Linked DNA regions of Homo sapiens: region 2 is linked to region 1. Evidence: promoter capture Hi-C in 16 types of primary human blood cells and fetal thymus (Javierre and others, 2016). All regions are on one chromosome and are shown on one strand. The core of a region is centred on a gene start or on the middle of the fragment in contact, and the rest is flanking DNA. Distances in the headings are between cores, read along the strand shown. Region 1 holds the start of LNCSRLR (lncRNA sorafenib resistance in renal cell carcinoma associated). Region 2 has its middle 46 kb from the start of SLC9A9.

Evidence for each region. Contacts are between HindIII fragments. The CHiCAGO score rates a contact against its expected background, and 5 or more counts as called.
Region 2: a fragment that was not itself captured here is called in contact with the fragment with the promoter of LNCSRLR in region 1 in 3 of 17 cell types (megakaryocytes, M2 macrophages and naive B cells); the score reaches 7.5 in megakaryocytes.

Annotation. Positions count from the first base shown.
Region 1 is chr3:146,067,542-146,070,567 of GRCh38, reverse strand. It overlaps LNCSRLR (lncRNA sorafenib resistance in renal cell carcinoma associated), which reads left to right and starts at 1,383. Exons shown (of 2, transcript NR_146297.1): 1 at 1,383-1,749. PLOD2 (procollagen-lysine,2-oxoglutarate 5-dioxygenase 2) reads left to right here. Exons shown (of 20, transcript NM_182943.3): 20 at 1-1,128. The HindIII fragment of the contact is 7,145 bases long and covers 1-3,026 here.
Region 2 is chr3:143,893,103-143,896,121 of GRCh38, reverse strand. No RefSeq gene overlaps it. Among named protein-coding and RNA genes, the nearest start is that of SLC9A9, 46 kb to the right of the region's middle. The HindIII fragment of the contact is 1,075 bases long and covers 733-1,807 here.

The DNA of each region.
Region 1 (3,026 bases), core at 134-2,633:
TATAAAAAATTGTTTGATATTTCTTAATGTCTGCTCTGAGCCTTAAAACACAGATTGAAGAAGAAAAGAAAGAAAAAACTTAAATATTTATTTCTATGCTTTGTTGCCTCTGAGAATAATGACAATTTATGAATTTGTGTTTCAAATTGATAAAATATTTAGGTACAAATAACAAGACTAATAATATTTTCTTATTTAAAAAAAGCATGGGAAGATTTTTATTTATCAAAATATAGAGGAAATGTAGACAAAATGGATATAAATGAAAATTACCATGTTGTAAAACCTTGAAAATCAGATTCTAACTGGATTTGTATGCAACTAAGTATTTTTCTGAACACCTATGCAGGTCTTATTTACAGTAGTTACTAAGGGAACACACAAAGAATTACACAACGTTTTCCTCAAGAAAATGGTACAAAACACAACCGAGGAGCGTATACAGTTGAAAACATTTTTGTTTTGATTGGAAGGCAGATTATTTTATATTAGTATTAAAAATCAAACCCTATGTTTCTTTCAGATGAATCTTCCAAAGTGGATTATATTAAGCAGGTATTAGATTTAGGAAAACCTTTCCATTTCTTAAAGTATTATCAAGTGTCAAGATCAGCAAGTGTCCTTAAGTCAAACAGGTTTTTTTTGTTGTTGTTTTTGCTTTGTTTCCTTTTTTAGAAAGTTCTAGAAAATAGGAAAACGAAAAATTTCATTGAGATGAGTAGTGCATTTAATTATTTTTTAAAAAACTTTTTAAGTACTTGAATTTTATATCAGGAAAACAAAGTTGTTGAGCCTTGCTTCTTCCGTTTTGCCCTTTGTCTCGCTCCTTATTCTTTTTTTGGGGGGAGGGTTATTTGCTTTTTTATCTTCCTGGCATAATTTCCATTTTATTCTTCTGAGTGTCTATGTTAACTTCCCTCTATCCCGCTTATAAAAAAATTCTCCAACAAAAATACTTGTTGACTTGATGTTTTATCACTTCTCTAAGTAAGGTTGAAATATCCTTATTGTAGCTACTGTTTTTAATGTAAAGGTTAAACTTGAAAAGAAATTCTTAATCACGGTGCCAAAATTCATTTTCTAACACCATGTGTTAGAAAATTATAAAAAATAAAATAATTTTAGAAAGTTTTGTTGTTCTATTATTGGTGTTTATCTTCCAACGTGAATACATGATGGAATTGTCTGAAAGAATGAAGCCTTTGATTTTTCATTTTGCTTAGTAGATTTAATGATATACGAAACTATTGAATTATAAATGAAATTATAAAATCTTCAATTTTAGGATGACTAGGGATTTGATCTAACTCGTTTTCCAAGTGAGAAAATAGAAGCCAAATGTTATTCAATATAGGTTTATTTGTTTATTAATATTTTCTGGGTCTCTATTATGGGTCAGGCACTGTTCCAGGCACCAAGGATATGTTGATGAAGAAGACATTATAGTCACTGTGAGATGGACTTAAAAAGATAAGGAAGTTGGTTCTACTCCTGTTCTCTTCTTTGGCGACACTTAATACCCAAAGAAAATTTCTACTATCCATCAACTAGGATAAGGAGACATTTTAGTAATGATTTGTGAATTATGTTACTGTACATCAGGAATGGTTTTCAAAATATGTAACACCTGGTATGATGTAGATGCCAACTCATCGGAACAGACTCTGGTTATAAAAGCAGATCGGTTCGTTCCTACCAGTGCAAGCCAGCTTAATATCTCTTGTGGTACAGTTCAAAGACATCTCCCAGGTACTAGTTATTTTCCATTTTGGTATCCATGGGTGGTTACTTAGCATAACTATTTCAGTCTCATGCCATGTTTTCAGAAATGGGATCCAGGTAGTCTATTGAGCACAGTTTTTTTGTCTTTCCTCTTATCCTACATTCCATGAAATAATATAAAATGTAGCTTTAAAAAGATGATTCATAATTACTGAGAGAAAATTAGAAAAATTCCCATAAGTAGATTAAAAAATTTGAAAAACGGAAAACGAGTAGAATTGGAAGGATGGAGAAAAATACAGCTTGAAACACACAGAGCAGAAGATACAGAAAGTACATCTATTGTTTGATTCATTCATTTTATGCAATATAATAAAGGCTTTTTAAAAAAAATACACACACACACCCATATATATAAACAATTATCCCCTGAATAATATGGGCGTTAGAGGCACTGATCCCCATGCAGTCGAAAATCCACATGTACCTTTTGACTCCCTCAACACTTATCAACTAATAACCTACTGTTGACTGGAAGCCTCACTGATAACATAAACAGCTGATGAACATTTATTTTATATGTTATATGCATTATACACTGTATTGTTACAATAAGCTAGAGAAAACGTTATTTAAAAAATTATAAAGAAAGATAAAATATATTTACTATTCATTAAGTGGAAGTGGATCATCATAAAGGTTTTCATCCTTGTTGTCTTCGCGCTGAGTAGGCTGAGAAGGAAGGGGAAGAGGAAGGGTGTCTCAGGGGTGGCAGAGACAGAAAAAACCGGCATACACATGAGCCCGCGTAGTTTAAGCACATGTAGTCCAAGGGCTTATTGTGTATCTGCAACAATCAGATATCTCTGACAGATGAACCTGATAAAGTCACACTATTTAGAGTATGATACCATTTATGTTAAAAACAAAATACTATATATGTGTGCATAAACCTACAGAAAATTTCCTAGAGAGGAACAACTCTGGAGAGTGGTATGAGATCACGGAGGAGTAAATAGGATTTATGCCTTTTACGTTTTACACTTGTGTTTTTGAAATATTATAGAAATATATTTGTATATTGATTGTTTAAAGAAAAAAAGACTAGAAGGAAAAGGAGACATTCACGTAACTAATTTGAATAAATGGAAGCATATGGATGTCAATAGTAACCGTGTGTGTGTGCGCATGTGTGTGTATGTGTATACATACATTACCAAGGTGCTTTAAATGCTCACCGTGGTAGAATTTTTTCTAATTCTTAATGCGCATAGGAATCAATATGAATATTTTCCTTAATATAG
Region 2 (3,019 bases), core at 21-2,520, 2.2 Mb after region 1:
AATAATATAAGAAAAGAGTTTGACATATTTTGCAGTCACATTCATTTACATTGTAAGATGGATAAGCAAAATAAAAAATATTGCACTGTGACTGTTAAGAATTTTTTGTACCATGTGCAAAGAGAGACCCCTGCTGGAACTTTTTTTTTTTTTTTTTAATTAGAATGTCTAAACCAACTCAGATGAACTGTATTGTTAAAGAAATGCACAGGTACACCTGAACTTAAAAGTTAAAAAAAAAAAAAAAACACAAAAGAGAAATAGCGATGACTCTGCAAGCTGTAAGATAAAATTTCTGAATACATTTTACCCCAAGACAAAGGAATTTTTTTTTTTTTTTTTTTTTGAGATGGAATCTCGCTCTGTGGCCCAGGCTGGAGTGCAGTGGCACGATCTCGGCTCACTGCAAGCTCCGCCTCCCGAGTTCACGCCATTCTCCTGCCTCAGCCTCCCGAGTAGCTGGGACTATAGGCGCCCGCCGCCACGCCCAGCTAATTTTTGTCTTTTTAGTAGAGTTTCACCGTGTTAGCCAGGATGATCTCAATCTCCTGACCTCGTGATCCGCCCGCCTCGGCCTCCCAAAGTGCTGGGATTACTACAGGCGTGAGCCACCGCGCCCGGCCGACAGAGGAAATTTTTAACCTCTCCACAAGAAAATTTCCACAGCAGGGGAGATTTTGGGGTTTTCTTTGATATGTTTTTCTCTGCTTATTTTCTTTTGATCTCCAAGCTTGAGTAACAATAGGTTCTAGCTGTTATCTGCCTGTCTTGACATATCTGCGGAGGTGGTAATTGACCCCAAAGTGAAAACCAGAGGTTCACAGTCAGATGGATCCATATCACTTACACTTTCTCTACTATGTGACTTGATTTATTCCAAAGTTCAGTACTGCATATTCGCTCTTTACTGGGATTTTCCTGGTGATATATTGGGAGTGTGTGGATGTAAAGGATGGAAACTGGATTTCCAGTCAGTCTCTTGTGGTGAGGTGGGCCAGTGAAGACAACAAGCAAGAGAATCTGGAATTGGAGCAATAAATGCATGGGTGTTGTCCTGCCTGAAGTGGAAAGGTAAAGGCTGGAACAATTCCCTGTCCCAACTCCCAAGCCCTTGTGAAGGTTTTGAGGGTTCCTTAGGCAGAAAATGTGGCATGCCCAGAGGGATTCAGGTGCATAAGACATGGAAATGATAAAACTTTTAGAACCTGAACTGCTCTAATTTTACCTAAAGCTCCCCACAAACCCCACTCCATGCATAGCTTCTCTATGTTTCCTCTCTCAGAAAAATACTACAAAAAAGCCCTCCGCTCCCCACAAACCCAGGATGTTACCATATTCACATCTCCTTCTGCTTCACTTGGACCACCAGTCATCAAATTCTGTTGATCCCCAATTCTTAACATGTTCCGTATCCATTTATTTCGGCTTCTGAAATGCTCTGGGGCTGCTCCGTGAAGTTGTAATTTTTCACCTGGACCACCATGACAGTCTAGGAATTGGTGCCTTGACCTTATCAATTCTTCAAATAGCAGGGATAAAATCATAGCTCTCTTATGATTCAAATATTTCATCTCAGTTCTTTTGAGGTCAAAACTTCTTGGTACAACATAAAAGGCCCGTTCTGATCTGGAAACATCTTAGGGTTTTCGTTCTATCTCTTGGTAGACACTTCCCCACCTTTCTATACTCAGACATTCCTAGCTGCTTGGGGTTTTCTGACAATATCTGCATATGCTCTTCTAACAGGAATACCCTTTGCCTGTTATTTACCATGCCAACTGCTTGTAACTTCCTCCGTTTTGAAGCTTTTATAATCCTTTGCTTCCAACCCGTTGAAAAGAACCATTTCCTCATGCTACAACTATAACCTGTACATACTTGTATGGTCACCCCTTTGCCAGTTTCTTGAACCTATTTATCTACCTGCTGCTTTCTCCAAGCTGGAAGGTAATCTGGGCCACACCTGCTTCTGACTGATATTCTTAGTGCTTAGCCCAGGGTCTGGCCCTAAAAGGAGCTCCTTAAATACTGGTTAAATATGTAGTAAGAGGCTTCAAGGACTGAACCCCAGTGATTCTGAAGGAGTGACTGCTAGAGATGTAGACAATTATTTGTTGTTTTAGCTAAGAAGTAGCCTAAATTTAATTTTGTGAAAAATATATTAATGGCCCTTTTGTTAAGCAAAGGTAAAGACAAATTAAATTTCAGAATGTCCAAGCCAGGACACAAAAAAGCTAAGCTGAGCTACATTAGCAAGTGCAGTAGAGTCTCTTCATTTTTGTCAGAGTGGCATTTTTGCAGAGATTATCATGGCATTCAAGGGGCATCACGCTAGAGATAGGTTGGGATAAGGATATAATGTTCCCCTCCCTTGTGACATGGTCAAAGACACTTACAGCTACAGGCAGTAAGCTGATCTCTAAAACATGTCATCCCCTTGGGCTAAAGAGACAAATGGGCAGCAGACCTGACCAAGGGAAGGAAAGAGTTGAAATATAAAGATATTTGCTTTTTCCTTTCCTATATTTTTATTTCCCTCTGTAAGCTCCAAGCCTTCAGTTGCATTAAGCACTCTAGCTGGTTTCAGTTGAGCTTTGGGGAAATATGTGAATAACATTGTCTACTCTCAGGACAAAGCAGCTTAGGAGCAGTCAGGGCATCTCATGATGTCCACTCATCTGGGCTGAAGGAGTGACAAAAAGAGCTCTTTCTACCTCTTACAACATCCTTATAAGAACTAGGAAACGTGCCCATTCTTCTTCAAAGGTAACTCTTTACTTGCCTCTGCCAGGAAATGGATTTGGTATATTAATTTGTTAAAACAAAACCCTTAACTCCCATCTGCCAGAAAACTGTTACAATAAATCTATGATGTCTATAATGAAAATGATGCCCCTTATATGTGGTGCCCTTGTGCATTACAGAATCTGCATAGCCAGACACAGCATCTGTGTTAATGAGAGAGACAAAATGCAAAACATTAACACGTCCTGAAGATCCTGAGTACTATTTGAGAGTG